3 separate regions of the Homo sapiens genome follow, and regions 1 and 2 are each linked to region 3. The links are contacts of gene promoters, found by promoter capture Hi-C in human tissues and cell types (Jung and others, 2019). All regions are on one chromosome and are shown on one strand. Each heading gives the region's core, a stretch centred on a gene start or on the middle of the fragment in contact. The rest is flanking DNA. Distances are from core to core; before and after follow the strand shown. Region 1 overlaps DENND6A (DENN domain containing 6A). Region 2 overlaps PDE12 (phosphodiesterase 12). Region 3 holds the start of SLMAP (sarcolemma associated protein).

Region 1 (3,549 bases), core at 732-3,231, 130 kb after region 3:
TGAAACCCCGTCTCTAGTAAAAATACAAAAATTAGCCAGGCATGGTGGCACGCGCCTGTAATCCCAGCTACTTGGGAGGCTGAGATGTGAGAATCACTTGAACCTGGGAGGCGGAGGTTGCAGTGAGCTGAGATTACACCCCTGGACTCCAGCTTGGGTGACACAGTGAGACTGTGTCTCAACAAAAATAAAAAATTAAATAAATACTAATTTAAATATTATTAAATGTTTAAACTAATGAACTTGGCTGCTTTTCAAAGACATTTTAATTATAAATCTCATAATCAGCTATTTTTTTAAACTGAACTATTCTTATTTCAAAGGCATTCATGAGTTTTTTATGTGATACTTATTTGAGTGATGATAAGATTGATTTCTGGCATTATTTGTTTGGTAGCGTTTTATTTTTCCCAACATTAATGTTTCTTAAAACACTTTTCCTACTATTGTTTGACATGGGAACTTTCGCCTGAGTCACTGTCATGGTTAGCTTTTGTTGTTGTTGTTTTTGTTTCTGTTTTGTTTAAACAATACTACCTTGCCAAAAATAGAAGAATGTGATTTGGTAGAGTAGGGTTGTTTGGTTTGTGTTTGAATAAGAGTATCCTACAGAAGCCACTTTTTTTTTTTTTGAGATGGAGTTTTGCTCTTGTTGCCCAGGCTGGAGTGCAATGGCGCAATCTCGGCTGACTGCAACCTCCACCTCCCGGGTGCAAGTGATTGTCCTGCCTCAGCCTCCTGAGTAGCTGGGATTACAGGTATGTGCCACCACGCCTGGCTAATTTTGTATTTTTAGTAGAGATGGGGTTTCTCCATGTTGGTCAGGCTGGTCTCAAACTCCCGACCTCAGGTGATCCGCCCGCCTCGGCCTCCCAAAGTGCTGGGATTACAGGTGTGAGCCACCGCACCTGGCCAGAAGCCACTAACTAAAATAGGCACACATGACACAGCATGTGGTTAATAGCTGTGTCTTGAATTATCCTCTAAATAACCAAATTTAGTTGTATGTATTTGTAAAGGATATGGCTTCAGAAGCTATCTTTTGTTCTCTGTCGATATAACTCTTAAGGGCATTCCTGACCCAAGAAAGACTCCTTGCGTTTGTAACTGTGGTCTAATACCCAAATGTGCCCTGTTCTTATGGATACAGTCTCTTGAAGCATACCTCAAAGTCATAGAGAGAATATGGCATTTGAAAGAAATCGTTTGCCTTGGATCATATGAGTTATTTTGTGAAACAACAGCTGACTTTTCAGAAAAGGAGCAACTACTTTTATATGCTAAAAGTATTTCATAACTTTCTGGGAAACCTTATTTAGGTATAAATGGTCATCTTATTATTTTTCAAAAAGGTATATTTTAATAATTGTACAATTTATATACAGTTTGTGACCAGAATTTGTAAGTTGTTGGTGTCATATCAAGGATCTTTTAAATTATGCCACTACAGGATGTATCATTTCAAGTCTATTTTGCACAGCTAAACAGTAGCAAAAGATGCCAATTAGCATGATAATGGTGTCTTCATTTTTACTGTATTTAACTGAAACCTAACACATGTTGAAAACCATATCATACCTAGTTTATCTCTTAATTTCAAACTATGTACTTGTAAAAATGATGTAAATTTGCACTGGGAACCTGGGAAAGAGTGACTGATAATTTTTGGTGCGTGATTTTTAGATTTGTCTTTTTTTTTTTAAGAAGAATTTGTTACTATGTAAACCCTGACATTAAATGTTTTATCTCTACCAGCATCAGGAGGAATCACTGCTTTAAGGGTATTATGTAATGCCTAGTGCCTTCTATTTACAGTGAAAAAGAGGTTTTGTGAAGGCATTTATGGTCATTACCAAAAACTAAATTAAAGGCCTTGGATTTTAAAGCACTTGGATATTTTGTGTTATTTCTGAATGGGGTTGGACTGCTTGGAGAAAATGCATAGTTAATGAAACTCGTCATTATGAGATTCCTTTTGTTTCCTGCCAGGTTGTTTGTTTTTTTAAGGACTTCAAATGAAAACCCTGTGTACTTCACTATGAACAGGTGAACAGTTCTGTTTAGACAGATCAGTTAAGTGACTTCATATCTTTCCTAGCAGTGCATTGATTTTATGAAATATTCTGGTAAAAATATTGGTCGTATGTGGTGGCTCATACCTGTAATCTCAGCACTTCAGGAGGCTGAGGCAGGAGGATCGTTTAAGCTCAGGAGTTCAAGATCTGCCTAGGCAAACAAAGTGAGACCCCGTCTCTACAAAAAATCAAAAAATTAGCAGAGCATGGTGGCACATGCCTGCAGTCTCAGCTACTCAGGTGGCTCAGGTGGGTGAGGGGATGGCCTCAGCCTAGGAGATTGAGGCTGCAGTGAGCCATAATCACACCACTGCACTCCCGCCTGGGTGACAGAGCAAGACCTGTCTCAAAAAAATAATTATTTTAGTTGAATAAACTCAATTATTGCTAGATTCTCCTTCATTTGCTACCTTTTTAAAAACCCAAATCTCCCAATTATTTTTACTTCTTCCTCTTCTTTTTTAAAAGTAGCAACTACATTATATTATTCTTTTTTTTTTCTTGAGACGGAGTCTTGCACTGTCACCCAGGTTGGAGTGCAGTGGTGTGATCTCTGCTCACTGCAATCTCCACCTCCCAGGTTGAAGCCGTCCTCCTGCCTCGGCCTCTCAAGTAGCTGGGATTACAAGTATGTGCCACCACACCTGGCTAATTTTTGTATTTTTAGTAGAGACGGGGTTTCACCATGTTGGCCAGGCTGGTCTCGAACTCCTGACCTCAAGTGATCTGTCTTGGCTTCCCAAAGTCCTGGGATTACAGGCATGAGCCACTGCACCTGAGACCCCATCTCTAAAAAAAGTTTTTTAAAAGTAGTCAGATGGCCGGGCATGGGCTCACGCCTGTAATCCCAGCACTTTGGGAGGCTGAGATGGGTGGATCACAAGGTCAGGAGATCGAGACCATCCTGGCTAACACAGTGAAACCCTGTCTCTACTAAAAATACAAAAAATTAGCCAGGCGTGGTGGCGGGCGCCTGTATTCGTAGCTACTGGGGAGGCTGAGGCAGGAGAATGGTGTGAACCTGGGAGGCGGAGCTTGCAGTGAGCCGAGATCGCCCCACTGCACTCCAGCCTGGGCGACAGAGCGAGACTCCGCCTCAAAAAAAAAAAAAAGTAGTCAGACATGGTGGTACATGCCTGTGGTCCCAGCTACTTGGGAGGCTAAGGTGGGAGGATAGTGCATGCCCAGGAGTTCGAGGCTGCAGTGAGCTGTGATCATGCCACTTCACTCAGCCTGAGCAGCAGAGTGAGACCCTGTCTATAAAAGAAAAAATATTTTTAAAAAATTTTAAAAGATTTTGTTGTTTGATAATCATGCCTCATTCCATTTTACTAGCTTCACCACTAGACTTGTGTTGTTCTGTTTATTTTGCCTCCCCATTCTTGTCATCATTATACTATTTCTGTGTTAACTGTTAGAAAGCCGGACTTCATGGATCCTACATGTTTTTGCCTGTCCCTTTCCATGTCAGCCA
Region 2 (3,452 bases), core at 242-2,741, 190 kb after region 3:
AAAAGTACATCAATACTTCATGATAACATCATTAAAGTGAATTACTGGGCAAAATGGACTGTGTTATATAAATGCTTTGACATACATTCATTACATAAATTGGACAGAAGATAGAGATGAATAATTCAGTTTTCTGTGAAATTTTGCGGGGAAATTTTAAATTATGAGTAAAAATCTAACACTGACAGTATGAACATGGATTTTTGACAACCCAGAATTTGCTAGCATAGCAGATAGGTGAACAGATTTACTATATTTAAGATTATTTTGCCATTTATATATAAAATTAAAATTTAGGCCGGGTACCGTGGCTCATGCCTGTAATCCCAGCACTTTCAGAGGCTGAGGCAGGCAGATCACTTGAGTTCAGGAGTTCAAGACCAGCCTGGCCAATATGGTGAAACCCTGTCTCTACTAAAAATACAAAAATTACAAGCAGTACTGTATGGTTATTTTGAAGTTAGTGCTAAGAAGAAAAATAAAATCACGAAGTTAATACAGCTCTAGTATTTTTAACATTTAAAAAAGTACTTTCATATAAAGTGAGAACACAGAACTTATATATTACCCATGTCAGTTAAAGCTGTTAAAAATTGTCCTCCCTACCCCCTACAACATGAAATCTAGAGTGGTTTTTTGAAGACAGGGTCTTGCTCTATTACCCAGGCTGGAGTGCAGCGCACCTTGATCACAACTCACTGCAGGCTTGACCTCATGGGCTCAAGTGATCCTCTGGCCTCAGCCTCCTGAGCAGCTGGGACTACAGGCATGCACCACCATGCCTGGTTAATTTTATTTTTTGCAGAGATAGGGTCTCACAATGTTGCCAAGGCTGGTCTTGAACTCCTCAGCTCAAGTGATCCTCCTGCCTCAGCCTCCCAAAATGTTGTGATTACAGTCAAGAGCCACTATGCCTGGCCCTCTAGATAGTGTTGCCTTCCTGTACTATATTAAGCAAATTATTAAAATTCTCAAAACACTGAAATATTTTTTATTTGTGTTTAAAAAATTCATTTTCAGGGCTGGGGGAGGGATAGCATTAGGAGAAATACCTAATGTAAATGACGAGTTAACGGGTGCAGCAAACCAACATGGCACATGTATACCTATGTAACAAATCTGCACGTTGGGCACATGTACACTAGAACTTAAAGTATAATAATAAAAAAAGAAAAAAAGAAAGTTAGTTTTCAGTTATGGAAGGTTGGGCTTGTAATCTCAACTACTTGGGACGCTGAGGCAGGAGGATCATTTGAGCCCCGCAGTTTGAGGCTGTAGTAAGTTATGACTGCACCACTGCACTCCAGCCTGGGTAACAGTGAGACTCTATCTCTTAAAAAAATTATGCTGAGAATATTTTCTGAGTTGTCACATGGGTCTTGTGATAAACTAATAATGCAAACTTTTATTTTTCATTATATATAAATATTGGATTTATCCCAACCAAACTAGTTTGCAGGGAACCTCTGCCTTTATTTCACGGCTGGAGAATGAGATACAAAAGATGTCAATTTCCATCGTAAGAACTTTCCACAGTAGTGTTCTTTGGACATTCTCTCCCTTGTATTAGGCTCCTCAGAAATCTATCTCCAGACTGAAACCAGCACATTCTGATGAGATCATAGCTTAGTACTCAGAAAAATCACTACTCAGTGGAATTCTTGAAATTTTGAAACAACTGATTTTAGCATACAGAATTTCAAAAAGAACATACATTACAGCCAGAAACGATTGTTTGCTCATGAATTTTGATTATTGGCAGACACATTTGCTGTAGCGGCAACTGTGCAAGAGTTCATTTTAACAGAATAATATGTTCTGAAATACTCTTTTATAATCAATATAAAATTCTAGAATGTTAATTCCTATAGCAAGAACTTGTGACATTATAAAATGTGGTTTACCATAGAAAGTCGCTAGATTTCCCATGTTTTCTTAAAATTAAATGTACTAAAAAATCCAAATGTAATAGAAAAATGCAATCACATAGGTGCTTTAAACAGACATTTCTGAATAACACTGCATTCTAACTCATGAGTACAAAGAAATGTGTATGCTATTTATACATTTTCTTAGTGTTCCCTACCTTTGGACTCCAATCATTTTAACGTATCCGTATACTGGAGATTTGATCACAGTATATGGCACTTCACAATAACATTCCATGTCCTAATAATGTGAAATGCCTGTATACAATCTGAGTATATTGTTTAGTCAGAAAACATCAAAATTAAGGATATAGGACATGGAATGTCTGTTAAGTGCTGAGTTTTTCTGACTAGAGTTTAATCTAGCCAGTGTTAATGTGGAAGCTGTATGCTTTTTTCATGGGCATGTTCGAATTTTTTCTTTCAAAATGTTTCTCAACTTTTTGATGTGACACTTTGTTTTCTCCCAAGTCACTCTAAGGGTTCTATCAACATCTTTCTTTGAAAACAGCCCAAAAACATATTTTTAAAATGAAAAAAAAATTCACAAGAGAATCAAGATTTGGTTTTAATCTATTATTTACATATTTGTAAACTGCTGTTAAAATGCTCTCAAAAATGTTATTTAGGAAGGCACAATTTGGTAGCATCAATTTTTTATTTATAGTTTTTTCTAAACAAGATCCGAAGAAACTTCCACTTTAATTTTCCCCTTGGAGTACTTAAAGTACTTCAAGGTTCAATGTCAAATGCAGATAAAACCCCTTCATTTTCAAACTTACTAAGTGTTAACAATACATTTGATAGTGAGCAGAATATGAAAGTACAGATGTTATCAAAAGAGGAAATTCTTATGATACTAGGTTCAGAGATTAAAGAATTTGAAACAAGGGCTTTCATGACTGGGGAAAATCAAAGCTTTTCTTGAAGGGAGTGGGCTTTTAATACTCGAGCTATTAATTAAATGCAGAAATGAGATAACATAGTTATCCTGAACATCAAAAAAGCAACAGCTAATACAGCTAATGCATTATAAATAATGTATTTCATAACTGAATTAGTAAAGCATGGTTACCACTCTAGGCTAGACACTAATCAGTATAACCATTTGTAGTTTCTAATTTTAAAAAGTTTGGCTTCATATTTAAATTTCATTTTACTATATATATATTACATATATACACACTGTTGTCTGTAACTCAAACTATAATGCTTGTCTGTAAAAAGAAGTTTTTTATTTCAGAGATGCTTAAAAGTCCCACTACTCAACCTTTTTCCTGTTTATAAAAACCAACAATTTTGAAATTACTTCTAGTGTAGAAATGCTCAATGATTCATCCAAAATTTCAAGCCCATATCAGTAGGTAGTTTCTCATAAAGTAATGTGCTGTATTTTCTAATATCATATGGTCAAATACCCTGTTCATTTATGAACATTTTTCATGGGCAAGAGTAACTGAAGACAATGGGATCAAGTTGAATATGTTGCTACTCACTTTGAATACTAAATTGTGCTTGCATCCT
Region 3 (3,515 bases), core at 1,010-3,509:
ACTAACTTTTGAATAGCACCTCTGTAAGTATGCATTAAGTACTTAATAAGTGCTGCAGGGAACATCAAAAAGTGATTTTCAAACGCAATATGTGTATGTTCTCCAACTTGTAAAAAAAACTCTGAAAATATATAAAGTTACAGTTGTTCATGCTTAATTAAATTAGCTTTGATTATTGCAAATTACTCCTCCAAGGGCAAGTATGTATCAAACCTTTCAAAAATCTTAGGTTTATATCAGCAATTATCCTTACTAGAAAGGTCCTGATCTGAACTCACCTAAAGCTATGTGTTAACTACATTTCACCACTAAGACACTTGAGCCCCGGGATAATAATGGCCACGGATTCCCCGAATTGCTTCGAGAACTGCTGCTTGCTTAATAAAGCGCTGAACTGTGAATTCACCTTTCTAAACAGACTAAAAGCAAGACGCCAAGTTTCACTATCTAGTTTGGGATTTCACTGGGAATGACCACGTTATCAAGATGCCATAGCCCTCCTGAGGCTTTTAATTACAATACCTTCTCTGTTTTCCATTCAACCACCTCAATCAAATTTCCACTAGAACCAGGCACACAAACAGTTGATTCGTGGCTTTGCGCAAAGCCTCCTCTGGATGCAAACCCTGGGATCCTGCATACATTAGTCCTCTCAGGGAGGGCAAAAGGGGAAAAAAAGTTTGTTAAACAATGCCGCTGGACAATGTGGTGACATTACCTTGCCCGTCTTGTGATCAAACCAGACGAGAGCGTGGTTCCTTGATAGCACTTTGCAATCAAAAGTGGCATTATTCTGCGCTGGTCGACAGCGGGCCACTGAGCGGCCGATTTTGATGGGCTCGTCCAGGTAGACATGACGCTCCTGAAACGGGTGCGAGTTCGGGCGGCAAGTGAAGATGGCCAAGGCTGACGGCATCGAGGATAGACTGGGGGTGTCTCTCCTACCAGGGACAAAGAGGAGTTCCTCCGGATCCGGACTGCCCTTCACAAGCCTATGCCCCTATCCCACCCAAAATTTTAAATTAACACAAACTGCACATTGTCTAAGCATAACCAGTGAACATCAACTCTTCACTTGGGTGGGAAGACAAGCCAGCGCAAGCCCCATCACCTCCTTTAAAACGCTGCAACGCCGTGATCACAAAAAGTCCCCAACTGGCAGCTTTCAGTCCATCTTCTTCTCTGGGAAGAAAAGGCTCAAACATCGGGCAGCTTCGGCCAAGAAAACTCCTGGAACACAGTTTGGGGACTGGAGGTATCCAAGCAGATGAGTCACACGCCAATTCTTGTGTTTGGTTTGAGATCGCGGCCGCTTTTCCCCCTTGGTGGCGGAAACGTTGCAGCACTGCAGCATGAATGAAGGGTCGGTTCGGCGCGGCCAGGAAAGTCCTTTTGGGCCGAAGGAAGGTGTGGCTGGGCACCTCTGGGCAGCCACCGCCAGTCCTCGCCCGGAGTGAAGGGGCGAGAGGTGACGGAGACGGAGGGGCTCTAGACGGCCGGCGGGACAGTCTGCATCGCCCCTGCTGAGCGGAGGCCGCCCCGGGAAGGGGGACGCGGTCCCCGGCCTGGCACGATCCGAGACGGCGGTGGCTGAGGTTCTCCGCGCGAGGCGTGGAGGCCGGCGGGGCGCGGGCAGTGGCCAAGTCGGGACTCCTGGGCACCTGGCGAGCGTCCCCGCGACCAGGGCGGGGACCCGGCTCCGCAGGCCGGTGCGGACCGAGCGAGGCGCGACACCGGGAGGCTCGAGTTCCCAGGCGGCAGGAAGTTGGTCCCCGGACGCCTAGGCTTCTGGGCCGCCGCTCAGCACATGGGCCGCCTCCCCTCAGGGTCGCCCCCGCGAGGGTCGCATCTCAGGGACGGCAGCCGCAGCTCCCGGCGGACGAGAAGGTGGGGGAGGGAGACTGGCCCGGAGGTTGGGGAGAGGCCTTGAGGCCCCGGGCTGGATCCGCCGCAGCCTCCACCGATCGCGGCCGATGGGGCAAGCTCAAGCTGCGCCCGACGAGGCAGGAAACTTTCCGACCTGGTGGGGAAAACATCAAAACAAACGGCCGTCAGGCGCCTCAGCCCGCCCGCCTCAGCCGTCGCCCCCTCCAGCCAGACCCCCGCCAGCCCACACCGCTAGGCACGACCTCCGCCGACCTCTCCGCAAGCAGGCTACGAGGATTTGGAGCCAGGACGCCACGACGGGTCCTACCTCCCTAGCCGCCACCACCGCCTCAGCTTACCTTGCCAGCGCCGGCCGCCATAGTGACTCTGACTGAAACCTACCCGGTGCACCGCCACGGGAACGCGCACCCTTCAAGGGCCCTCCTACCCCCTCTCCCGCGCCGTAGTCCAGGAATGTCACGTGAACGACGCCACGGAAGCCGTGTTGGTAGAGGGCAGAAAAAAGGGCAAGGTAATTTTTAACGGGCCTCCAGGCGCCATCTTAGTTAAGGGCTGGAAGCTTCAAACCTCGGGACAACCTTAACGACCATTTTGGTTAAGGGCAAGAACAATTTGCGCCGTAGAAGGTTTTTCAAACAAACAGTGCCACCTTCTTATTTTATCTACTTAGCAAGGGGGTGCCAACTTTTACTAAATTTTATTCTGTTTAATTCTCGATGAAAATACTAGCGAGCAAAAGAACAGACCCAGCCAAAGGAGATGGTCATTAGCAGCCATCTTAGCTGTGGGCAACACAGTCACCCGCAGCTACCTTAAGTGTGAGCCGCCAAACTCCCTGAAGTCTTAGGATTTGTGCACCTAACAGAAGGACCATTCTCCCCTCTGCTAAATTCGTTATGTTTTCTTCCCGGAAAAAAAAAATCTTAGTTCCCGCATTCCATTTCGAATGACAGTCTTTCTCACTGAACCTATTATGTGCCCCCAGGGCTCCTGCGCGGATTCTTCCACAGAAGGAGCGTCCAGAAAGTTTAAAATCATGTTTCTTCCAAAGAGAGATTGAATAATTTCCAAAGTGAAAAAAGAGGGTATTTCCCCCACTTACAATATCAAGATGAGGAGTCATTGGTCTAAAGAAGGAAGACTTTGCAAGGGCTAAATGAAAACTTTAAGAAAAAATAGTGAGAAGGAGACTTACTCATTTAGAATCAAAGGTGACTTCATTCTTCAGATTCCTGCAATAACAGGCTCCACCACTGTGTGACCTTAAGCAAGTTTCTAAACTTTTTCAAGCCTCTTTTTTCTCATGGATGACATGTTAATAATAGTTAATTCACTTGATGTGGTGAGACTTCAAAATGTTAATCCATGTTGTTCAATAAAGAGTAGCAATTAGGCCGGGCGCGGTGGCTCACGCCTGTAATCCCAGCACTTTGGGGGGGCCGAGGCAGGCGGATCACCTGAGGTCGGGAGTTTGAGACCAGCCTGACCAACATGGAGAAACCCCGTCTCTACTAAAAATACATAATTAGCCGGGCGTGGTGGCGCATGCCTGTAATCCCAGCTACTTGGGAGGCTGAGGCAGGAGAATCACTTGAACCCGGGAGGCGGAGGTTGCGGTGAGCCAAGAT

Evidence for each region. Contacts are between HindIII fragments. The study calls those that stand out against the background at their distance.
Region 1: a fragment that was not itself captured here is called in contact with the fragment with the promoter of SLMAP in region 3 in 1 of the 25 tissues and cell types used here (hippocampus).
Region 2: a fragment that was not itself captured here is called in contact with the fragment with the promoter of SLMAP in region 3 in 1 of the 25 tissues and cell types used here (hippocampus).

What each region holds. Positions count from the first base shown.
Region 1 is chr3:57,623,793-57,627,341 of GRCh38, reverse strand. It overlaps DENND6A (DENN domain containing 6A), which reads left to right. Exons shown (of 20, transcript NM_152678.3): 20 at 1-1,888. It also overlaps a transcript of PDE12 not described here. Among named protein-coding and RNA genes, the nearest start is that of ARF4-AS1, 28 kb to the right of the region's middle. The HindIII fragment of the contact is 7,622 bases long and covers 1-3,549 here.
Region 2 is chr3:57,561,073-57,564,524 of GRCh38, reverse strand. PDE12 (phosphodiesterase 12) reads right to left here. Exons shown (of 3, transcript NM_177966.7): 3 at 1-3,452. Among named protein-coding and RNA genes, the nearest start is that of PDE12, 6.5 kb to the right of the region's middle. The HindIII fragment of the contact is 8,870 bases long and covers 1-3,452 here.
Region 3 is chr3:57,755,053-57,758,567 of GRCh38, reverse strand. SLMAP (sarcolemma associated protein) reads right to left here and starts at 2,259. Exons shown (of 25, transcript NM_001377540.1): 1 at 2,226-2,259; 2 at 719-2,020. The coding sequence starts at 916. RefSeq lists a silencer at 1,522-1,801 and enhancers at 1,349-2,250, 2,172-2,351, 2,382-2,661, 2,251-3,153. The HindIII fragment of the contact is 9,488 bases long and covers 1-3,515 here.